Regions from separate parts of the Homo sapiens genome. Here region 2 is linked to region 1. The links are contacts of gene promoters, found by promoter capture Hi-C in blood cells and fetal thymus (Javierre and others, 2016). All regions are on one chromosome and are shown on one strand. Each heading gives the region's core, a stretch centred on a gene start or on the middle of the fragment in contact. The rest is flanking DNA. Distances are from core to core; before and after follow the strand shown.

The links. The method cuts DNA at HindIII sites, captures the fragments that hold promoters and counts their contacts. A CHiCAGO score of 5 or more calls a contact.
Region 2: a fragment that was not itself captured here is called in contact with the fragment with the promoter of HTR2A in region 1 in 1 of 17 cell types (M0 macrophages); the score reaches 5.8 in M0 macrophages.

Annotation. Positions count from the first base shown.
Region 1 is chr13:46,894,377-46,900,081 of GRCh38, reverse strand. HTR2A (5-hydroxytryptamine receptor 2A) reads left to right here and starts at 3,029. Exons shown (of 4, transcript NM_000621.5): 1 at 3,029-3,408; 2 at 3,848-4,587. The coding sequence starts at 4,176. The HindIII fragment of the contact is 5,377 bases long and covers 1,108-5,705 here.
Region 2 is chr13:47,401,918-47,407,622 of GRCh38, reverse strand. No RefSeq gene overlaps it. Among named protein-coding and RNA genes, the nearest start is that of HTR2A, 510 kb to the right of the region's middle. The HindIII fragment of the contact is 1,125 bases long and covers 2,573-3,697 here.

The DNA of each region.
Region 1 (5,705 bases), core at 1,780-4,279:
CCCTTTATATCCTCACAATGGACCAGTCTTTGCATGCTGGCTGCCACAGAGAAGGGGCATGACCACTGGCAAGCTGGCTTCCTTGGCTGAGGGGAGTGTTCACAGAAAGAGTGGAGAGCCAGCCACCAATCCTTCCAGCAGCAGGGAGCCCGAGTCTCAGCCCTGAAGCAGAAGCTGGGCGAGGCATCACGGTGCGCACTACAGCAGCCAACACACACTCGTCTCACCAAACTCACAGGGGCATCTGCCCAGCAAGAAACTATTCCTACCTAATCTAACCCTCATGCTATTAACCTAGAAGCTCTGTTTAAGAATCAGGAGCCTAGATTATGCCCCTACTGCTTTGTCCATAACAAGTATTCATAAAATTGCAATAAAAACTAGAAATAATCTTAGATGGTAGCCAAAAAAATATTTCCCAGTGTAAACCACATAATAAGAAACACTGATTAGTTTTGGCATGACTAGAAGCCTAGCTGTTCTTCATGAGAAATAATGGACTGAGATCATCAGAATTCTCTAAGAGCTATAACAAGAACATCTATAAAATTTAACCTCAGAAAACTTTTGAATAACTTCCTGACACTGGAGTATTTTTTATATTACATTTCCCTCTGCTATCTTTAATAAAATTAAATTGGTATCCCAATAAACAAAGTAACAAGAAAAAATGAGAGGTTCTAAGTTTCTCCCTGGTTCTCCTTTTTAATAATCAATTCATCTTAATTTATGCTAATAACAATTCAGTCAGAACACATCTGTTGAGGACCTTCCATTATGAGATACCATGCTTAGATACCACATGTGAGGTTTATGAATTGCATCTGGGTGGATAATATAATAGTATAAGATAGATGTAATATAGATTACATCTATATTAAGGGTATGGAAATGAAGTTCAACATCTAATAGAGAAGACAGACATTTACACAGATGTCATGCATTCATTCAACAAACATACTTAAGCACTATGCGCCCAGCTGTTAACAAGATAGACACAGTTCCTGCCTTTATGAGGCTTACATGAGACATGATGTGTTAAAAATAGAAGGCTGCAGAAGGTGCTATAGTCTTTGCCTCCACTGGGAAGGAGGGCTACAGAAAGCTTAGGAACAGTAAACTTAGTAAGAATAATAGCAACTAACCTTTATTGAGTGCTTAAAATGTGCCAGGCAAATATGTAAATTTATTTGGCTTTCACGTCAATCCTGAGGTCTTTTTATTATTAATGTTCCCTACTTGCGGATGAGGAGACTAAAACACAGAGATTAGGTAGCTTAATCACGCTTACAGATGTGGTGAGTGGTAGGCCTGGGATCCAGAGCTGCTCTGGAACTAAGCACGAATTTGCCAGATGGACACACACAAAAAAGGAATGGTAAGAGCACTCCGGGCACAGGGAAGTACAAGTACAGAGACATAAAAATGGTCAGAAACATGTAAGTTCAGTCTGCATACAGGCTGACTGGGAGAGTAACCAGAGTCCAGGCCTGCAAAGTGGGGCAAGCAGGGTACAGGTAGATGAAGAAAAGTGTTATGTGCCCCACAAGGAAGGGACTGCAGGAGTGTAGGCATGGGAGTGATGCCAATTGTGTCATTAATATCAGTAAGAATATCAATAGGAATGAAAGTGGCTGACATTACTTGAGAACCTCCTATAAGCCAGACATGGGCCAAATACTTACACACATTATCTCAGTTTAGCTTCACTACAATCTTATGAGGAAGGTATTATCCCATTTTACAAGTGAGAAGACTGAGCTTTAAAGGGAGCAACTAGATGAGGCGAGGTTCTACTGTTTATGAGTGATAGAGCTAGGATCCAAAACCAAGGAACTCTAAGGTCTGTGTTCTCCGCTGCCTGCTCGCCAGCGTGCATATTTAACGTGGAGGGGTAGGAGGGTGGCAGGCATGGCAGTGAGGGGGGCACTAAGGCACCCACCCAGGAAATAGGTGGCTAGATCTCGACCACAGGGTGCCAGCTGCAGGCTGCAGGAGAGGACATGTGAGAAACACGCATACAGAGGTAGCACCGGAGACGAAGTGGGATCTGGCAGCGAGAATGAAGGAAGAGTCGCGGATAACAGCAGCTGTCTGAAGAGGTGGTGATTCCATCATGCAAGCCAATGGGTAGGAACAAGCACTGAGAGCCGGGCAGGGGGATGCGGAGTGAGGGAAGATGCTGAGGTCAAGGTCTCCCAGGCTACCATGGAAGGAGCCAATGGGCAGCTAGAGATTTAGGTCTGGAACTGAGAGAAATAATCAGCTATGAAGGTACAGACTTGGCCACAAACATATTGAAGGCATGAGAGTGGTTGAATTTGTCCAGGGAGAATGTGAAGAACAGAAGGTGATAGAACTGTAGCAAAACCCAACTATTGAGGAAAATATTTTCATGCCTGCAAAAAGAGAGAGATCGAACTGCCTCCTTTAGAAACCTACTTGGGAAAGGGCTTTCTTTACAAGTAAGGCAAGTTGTCATTACTGGTGGGGGAAAAAAATTGGTACTGCGAAACCAACTTATTTCCTACCACATGTGAGGTTTTGAATAATATCTGGGTGGCATATTTCTGCTGAAGAAAATAAGCCAGTTCAATGGTGTATCTATTAAATAAAAATAGTGCTAATAGTTTATCAGAGTTATCACCACAGACGTGCCTAGCCACCCTGAGCCTATGTGGCCAATGTCAGTAATTCCACTCTGGACACAAACACTGTTGGCTTTGGATGGAAGTGCCGGACACTCACAGCACTCCGAGGACATACTGTTTTCTAGCCTTATTTATGTTCTCTCTTCACCCTTCAGCCTAAAAAATTACCACAGTGCCACTTACCTACCTTAATGGGAATCTGCACAAAAGGCCATTTCTCCAGTTTCTCTCAAAAGCAAAGGAAAACTTCCCAATATTAATATGTAGCAAAAAGAGGGAGAAGAAAAAGCCTGTTTGGTCCGCCCTCCTGGCTGTTGCTACCTTGCAGCTTATGACATACACATAGAGGGAGGTCTGATGAAATGAACGAGACAGTCAGAGAGCTACTCCATTCCCGTGGAAACCAGGAGTCCCTTGGTGCAGACAGCTCTTCCTACTTTCCCATGCAGTTCTTTTGTGCGACTTTGAGGGGCTCGTGAATGATTTCTAAATGTGTGCCTGCTGAGGCGAGCCGCACAGGGAGGGAGGAACCCAGCCGAGCCGTGCCAGAGGAAGCCAACAGGATCCTAGCAGTGCGGGAGCTGGCTCAGCTCTTGCATGCAGTTTTTGAAGTCAGCAAAACAGAAACCAAATTACTATCATATTATGCTGGTGGAAGATCAAGAAGAGGGGACTCTACACCAGTTTAATTACTGTGAGAGATGCAGCGAGTCACAGAATAACAAATGTATCTCATGTGTGGACCCTGAAGACAAATGTAAGTTCTCATGCCGCTATATTTTATTGCTGTGTAATTTTCTTTCCGGTTTGAAATCATGCTTGGCCAACATGTAATCATTTCAATGAGAATTTCCAGGGAGGAAAGTTGTCTGCTAATCTTTACTTAAGACTTTTTTGTTTTCCTTTTATTAGCTAAGCAACATTATAGGAGCTGAAATTCCTGACAGCAGCTGTGGCAATTCAGCTTAAGAATGGCTGAGAACTGTAACCCAAAGTACATCCAATTACTATGGGATTAACACTGGATGTATTTTTAATTGACTTTCTTAATGTAGAATGTGTACATCCCCACTGTTTCTGATTGCATGCTATTTTAATAATACTGTTGCTAAACTAGTACCATCGGCATAACCAACAAAATGAGATATAGTTAAACAAGAGTCCCAGTAGTTATAAAACTTTTCTTCTTTGTCCAGGACATTTATCTTCCCGAGCGCTCAAAAAAAACCCTGCAACCTCTATGCTAAAAGTTCATTCTGCTTTTTTGTCCTCGGTTTGGTGAGAAAATAATAAAACCAAACAGTGGACTCTCCTAAAATTGTGAATGAAGAAAACTTACAGCCACCACAGTTCAGTTCTTTAACTATCATTGTAATAATGGAAGACAAAAATCCAGCCCCGGGAGAACAGCATGTACACCAGCCTCAGTGTTACAGAGTGTGGGTACATCAAGGTGAATGGTGAGCAGAAACTATAACCTGTTAGTCCTTCTACACCTCATCTGCTACAAGTTCTGGCTTAGACATGGATATTCTTTGTGAAGAAAATACTTCTTTGAGCTCAACTACGAACTCCCTAATGCAATTAAATGATGACACCAGGCTCTACAGTAATGACTTTAACTCCGGAGAAGCTAACACTTCTGATGCATTTAACTGGACAGTCGACTCTGAAAATCGAACCAACCTTTCCTGTGAAGGGTGCCTCTCACCGTCGTGTCTCTCCTTACTTCATCTCCAGGAAAAAAACTGGTCTGCTTTACTGACAGCCGTAGTGATTATTCTAACTATTGCTGGAAACATACTCGTCATCATGGCAGTGTCCCTAGAGAAAAAGCTGCAGAATGCCACCAACTATTTCCTGATGTCACTTGCCATAGCTGATATGCTGCTGGGTTTCCTTGTCATGCCCGTGTCCATGTTAACCATCCTGTATGGTGAGTGGCATTAGTTTCCCAGCTATATTCGCACTGGTAATAAAGAGCATGTGCATGCCACCAGCAGATGAGATGGGGCTCAGGGGGCAAACAAACTATAAATAGAAGTCTTTGTTTATAGACTAGAGCCTACTATGTTACTTATATTTTACTCTTAAAATGGGATTTCACATAAAAATCAGACAGTCTATGACCTGTGATCACTGGAGAGTTTTGTGCTTCAAAACGCGTACATCCTGTGTAAAAATGATCATTGGAGAGTTTTGTGCTTCAAAACATGTACATTTAATGTAGAAATTTTTATAAATTACCCCATACAGTCATAAACCAATAACTTACCCATCATTCTGAATCTACTTGATTTTTGCTTCTTTATATTCCCAACCAATATTCCAGCCTTCAGGACAGAACAGTTTTAATCTTTGTCACACAGTTTTCAGCACTTTTAATGGAGTGATAAAGCCTTCCCAATTACTTTGGAACATTTGCAGAGAGAACATTAGTGGTGCAATAGGTTTTATGTTAAAATATGCAGAACCTCAATTAGAATAAATGAATTACTCCAGTTTTAATTGTTCCCTGCCCAGAGAAGCTAATTTGGAAATGTGCCTTTGAATTATATCCTCAACTCTTTGAAAATGCATATGCATAAACTCCTCCAGTCTGGTTTGGAGGAGGGTGGGAAACAAATGGGAAGGGATTAATCTTGCTTTCTTCTCAACAGAGTTTGAAACAGTCAGACCTCTCAGCAAGGGACCAGAATGTGATATTCTTTCCAAATTATGAGTAATACAGCCAGATACCTCCTTAAAGGAGAGACTATTGTGACTGCTGACACAGGCACAAGCAGCAGTCACTCAGAGCTTAGAGACAGGTTATGATAGCTATCTTTAAAGGGAAATTTTCTGGTCAAGTCTTAGGGGCTAAGATTAAAAAACATCAACCCAGCCCTAGAGAATGTGAAGGAGGAAGGCGGTACGCAAGGGCGAGCAGGCGCCAGTTTGCACAAAGCTAGTAACACTCATTCCAAGTCCAGCCTTCACTTGACCATTTAAATGCCACACCGGAATGATTTCATTTAATTTGCCTGCCCTTTCCCCGGCATCCCGGGGAAGATT
Region 2 (5,705 bases), core at 1,886-4,385, 510 kb before region 1:
GACTGGTGATGTTGATGGAGACAGCAATGGATTCCCTCCAAGCATGTCTTGTGCTCTAAAGTGTAACTGACCCAGCAGTTCTAGTGCAGGGTTGGTCATGGCTGTCCAGTCCACATGTAACTGCCGTAAAGGAATAGAACAAAGGCTAAAGAGGACAATGTTTGTCCAGCCAGCATCCAGCTGGGTCTTGTATATAAACCTTTTACTTTATTTTAAACTTTATGGACTTTAGTAATTCAAATATCTCAAAATCCTTCTAGGAGTTCAACCAGATTTAAAATATAGTATGATTATCTCCAAGTTTTAATGCATAATCAAAGTCATGTAAATTTTTAGAGACTTTTAGACTGTTTGCTCATATATGGTTAAAACTTTCAGCTCAACAAGTATTTGTAAAGGATCTACTACTTGCCTAGAACTATGCTAGACCCTAGATATATGAGAATACATAAAATAGACACAACAAGTTCTCCTCTAATTAAGCAGGGCACCAGTGGAGAAGACACAAGTAGCCCACATATAACTGTAGAAATGAAATGGTGTAAGTGCAATGAAGCACAATAATGGTTTTCTATTTAAAAAGGAAGCATTATATAAAAGCATAAAAAAGAATGACAAAAACCAGAAAAATATTAAATGTATCCATCCAACAGCTTTTTATCTGAAGAAGAATACATTAATCTAATAGTGCTTTTGGATGGAAAGATTTAAAAAATAGTGTTTTTTTAAAATAGATGAGGCTTTATCTCTAGAGTTTTGTTTTTGTTTTTGTTTGTTTGTTTGTTTGTTTTGAGACAGAGTCCTGCTCTGTTGCCCAGGCTAGAGTGCAGTGGCACAATCTCGGCTCACTGCAACCACTGCAACTCCAATGCTAGTGGAAAAAATGACAAAAGAAAATTCACATTTTATAGTGACCTCCTGGGTTCAGGCGTTTCTCCTGCCTCAGCCTCCAAGTAGTTGGGACTACAGGTGCACGCCACTGTGCCCGGGTAGTTTTTACACTTTTAGTAGAGACGGGGTTTCTCCATGTTGGCCAGGCTGGTCTCAAACTCCTGAACTCAGGTGATCCGCCTACCTCAGCCTCCCAAAGTGCTGGGATTACAGGCGTGAACCACTGTACCTGACCAACTCTAGAGATTCTAACTTAACTGTTAGCATACCTAGGCAGAACCTAGCTATTAGAATATATATGTATATATGTCCCAGATGATTTTCATATACAACCCAGGCTGGGAACTACTGAGATAACATAATAATAAGAAAAAAAATAAACAAAAACAAGCAAATACATAGAATAAGAAATGCTAGTGGAAAAAATGACAAAAGAAAATCAGATTTTTATAGTTGTTTCTGAAAAATAGAGGGGGAAATGCCCAATCAATTTTTGAAGCCTCTATAAACTCATTTTTAAAAAATGTTAAGAACAGCACATGCAGACGCATACACAAGTTATAGTCTTAGTATATGGATTTCAAAATTCTGTATAAAATTTTACATAAGTGAATCTGCTGTTCATTTAAATAAATAAATCATGATCAAGAAGGTTTTATTCCAAGAATCCAAGAATAATTCAAAAGTAAAAAACCTATCAAATCAATCATATTAATGGACTAAAAGTGAATAATAGTATCAACTGCCTCAAGAGTTATAGTCATTTGATAAATTTCAATGATTATTTATAACTTAAAAATCATCAGAAATACTAGGGATAGAAGATAACTTTCTTAACTTGAAAAAAAAAAAAAGGTGTGTCATACCTCCATGTTCTCTCAAGTGTTAATACTATTCTTTGACATGCCCTCTCTCCCTTTTACACCTAACTGGTATTATTTTCTCAGACTTCAAGATTCATTCATGCTATGCTTTTTTGGAAAATCTTTTTTGATCACAGTTTATGTGCTATGGATCTCTATAGCTTATTGTACTTCTGAGATTATTAATTTACTCAGTATACACCCTTTTCTGTGAAGACTTTCTGACTTCCCATGAACGTCTAGGTAACCACTCAATAATTTTTTAATGATACCAAGAGAGACAGTTGAGTCAGGTGATGTGAGTTCAAATTCCAGCCCCACCATCTTCTAATTGGGTGACTTACTCAACCTACTCAACCTATTCAACTAAACTGTTGTGTCATGGATGGAGTGTTTGCTGGCCTTCTCACTTCTCATATTCCCCACTTTGAATGCTACTGGGTTGCAACCACTTTCTCTGTGACCCTACAAATCACAATATATGTAATTCTAAATACTGTACTTATATGTTAATTACTAATTGAGGGTTTTTTTAAGTTTCTTTAATATAGGAACAATGCTTTATTTATATTTACCAGACACTTAGCATAATACCTGGCACTCAATAGGTGCTCAGTGAATGCTTGTTGCATGACTATTGTTAACTTTTCTTTTAAAATAAAATATAATATAGTTAATTAAGAACTGAAGATGACAGATTCTCATGTTCACATTAAGCAATTGCTTGATTTGGCTTATGGGAAGACCTGGAAATAGCTTTGGGAAGGTTGGGTTGGTTAAAGGCCTTGGGCACTAAGAACAGTGAGATTTTCTAAGCTTTCTCCTCATTTGGCCTCTCCTCTAGGTAGGTTTCTCTGACCCTCCCACTGGTGCTAAGTTCCCTCCTTTTGGCTTTCTTAATACTTTGTGGATATCTAGTTGTGGCATTTGCCATATATTATAATTTCAGTTTGCTTGCTACAGTGTAAACACAGAGAGGAAATGGCTCATGACTGTAATCTTTTTCTTATGCATAATAGATGTCCTATAAATGCTTGACAAATGAATAAGTATGATTAGATTGGGAGGGATGAGGCAAAGGCCTTTAAGAATATTTGATGACACCTTGACATCCTCTGGCATCACAATCCCAGATCGAGAAAGACATATGTAAACATTGAATATCCATTAAAATTCAAATATCCATATAACACTTGTCCAGGACATATGCTTATTAAGAAAAGAGAGTGAATATATCCAGCAATTTAAAATAAGATCCCTTAAAATCAACAGTTCACTGCAAAGTAAGTGGGGTAGCTGTTTATTGGATGAAAAAGACAGGAAAATTGATGGATGCAGGTAGAGAGGACTCTGGGCAGAAGAACATGTAGTTCTGCTTTTATAATCACTTCGCTAAAAATACACATATAGAGAACACAGCTGTTAGAAAGGACATCACAATAATTATAGGACTCAGCATTAAAAGCTCTCATTGCTTAATAACCAATTCCTTTAAAAAAACAGAGAAGCAGCTCATAGATAACAGTTCATGAATTCAATCAATATTCATCATCACCCTGTACAAAAGCCTTCAAGCTCATTGTTACTCATGTGTCATGACACATGTGCACATACACACCACACACAAACACACACACACACATACACACAATTTCTTATTTAAAGGCAACCAGCACAGAAGATACATTTTAAAAACCATACCACGTCGAAGTTGGAAAACAAAATAAAGCACATCTTTCTGAGTAGTGACCACCTTGTCTAACTTTTACATATACTATATATTTAGTTACAATAATCTCAAGTTATGGTAATTTTTTCCCCTGGAAAACCAATACTTGATTCAAAATTTGAATTTTATATGTTTAACATAGAAGTGTTTTTATCTCAACAGTTCTCTTCCAAAGAAAGATTAAGAACAGTAAATCTATGCCTTCCAGAAAGCTTAATTTTCAAGGATACCCTCCTAAGTTATTAAATGAGCATTTATTTAGCACTTACTTTGTTCAGAGCAGCATGGGAGGCATTATGATATAAACAAAAGAGATAGAAAACAAGTTTTTCATAGCCTTGGATATTTCAAATACAGCTGGAGACACATATATATGATATTATATAGTTATAGATTTAATATTTTATGTATACAATCTGAAGTACTTATCAATGGATATATTAAACTATAGAAAGATAAGAAAAGAAATACAAAAAAATACAAGTGTTGGTCTGTATAACCTCTTCTCATTTCAATAAATCCTTCACTTTCCTGAACAAGTTATGTTTCTGATGGCATTAAATACTAAACTGGTTCTCTATTAAAAAATATTCTAAACTTCTCTGCACAGTATCCATAGCACTCTGACTTGTACCAACTCACCTCTTCAGCCTGTTACCCTGTCAATAGCCTTCCACATCCCATGGTTAGAGGTTCTTCAACTTCTCTGATCATTCCACATTCTTACATTCTTCCCTCCTTGAATTTTAGCCTGGACAGATTTTTTCAGCCAGCCCGGGATGCTCTTTTCTGTGTGCGTGTGTGTGTGTGTGTGTGTGTGTGTGTGTGTGTGTGTGTGTGTGTTTATGTTTCCAAGTGGAGCCTCTGCTCAATATTCAAGGCTCAATATAGAGATAATCTTTGAATACTTTTCTTACTTCCCATGAATGCCTGTGTAGCCACTCTGTGTTGTTGTTGTTGTTAAATGATGCCATGAGAGACAGTAGATGATGATGTGGGTTGAATGCCAGCCTCACGATCCTCCTAATTGTGTGGCTTTGGGAAACTTAATCTCTCTAAGCCTCTGACCTCTTATAAGTAAAGTGAGGATAATAATAGGACCTATCTTAGAGTTTTTTAAAGATTAATAAGAACATAAATATAAAGCACTTAGCATAGTGCCTGACACCTAATAAATATGTTCTAGCCAATATTTTTATTAGTTTATTTTGATGATGGTTGGAAAGAAAATCTCTTCTTGTAAGATTTAACAGAGAAAAATGTATCTAGATAGGGTAGAAGAAGTGACAGTATCTTATGCAAGTGTATATGATTAAAACTATAGCAATTTAGAACTATTTTTCATTAATTCATTCATTTAACAAACATTTTATTGACAACTTACTCTATGTTGGTCACTGTGCTTGGTATCGGGCATACAAAGATGAATATTACACAGAGACTGCCCTCAAGACTAAAGGGAGAAAGAGAGATAAATATGTATGGATATATATGCATTATAATATATCAAAATGTAATATAATGTGACAGATGCAGTAATAGAGATATGCCCGGACATTCCTAGGAACATAGAGAATGGACGTTTAACATAGCCAGCTGACAGGGCAGGGAAGACTTTTTAGAAGAGGAGGCAATGGAATAATATTTAAAAGGATAGCAAAGGTTTAACTCATTGGAATGAAGGAGGTGTGCCTGAGCTGGACTCAGGGAAAGGATCAGCACAGAGGGCTCAAGGATGAACGTGGAGTTGACTTAAAGAAGAAGGTGGAAAGATGCTCAAAAGTGAAGCTCAAGTGGTATGAAGAGGCCAGAAAGTATAGGTTTAACAATGGAACTTTGTGCTTATCTTAGAAGGAATGGGGAGCCATGGACGAGACATCTTTGTGTTTTAGGTAGGTCTCTCTGAAAGCTTGGGAGAAGTGATAAGACCAGAAGGAGAGAAATAATTTGGGAGGTGGTTGTCACAGTGCAGACAAGAGACAAGGATCTGAAACATGGTATAGTGATGGGACCATGTCAAAGGTGAGGGGATGGATTGGAGACCTACATGTAAGGGAATATTGGCCAAATATTTATTTAATCCGGAGTGTGAAAAAGACAAAGGAATTGTCTGACTTTTCTGGTTTCTAGCTTGAGGGACTGGGCATATGACAGTGGAAATATGCCAGTTGAAATGGAGAAAATGAGGGGAGAGCAGTTTTAGATGGAAGTATGACAAATTT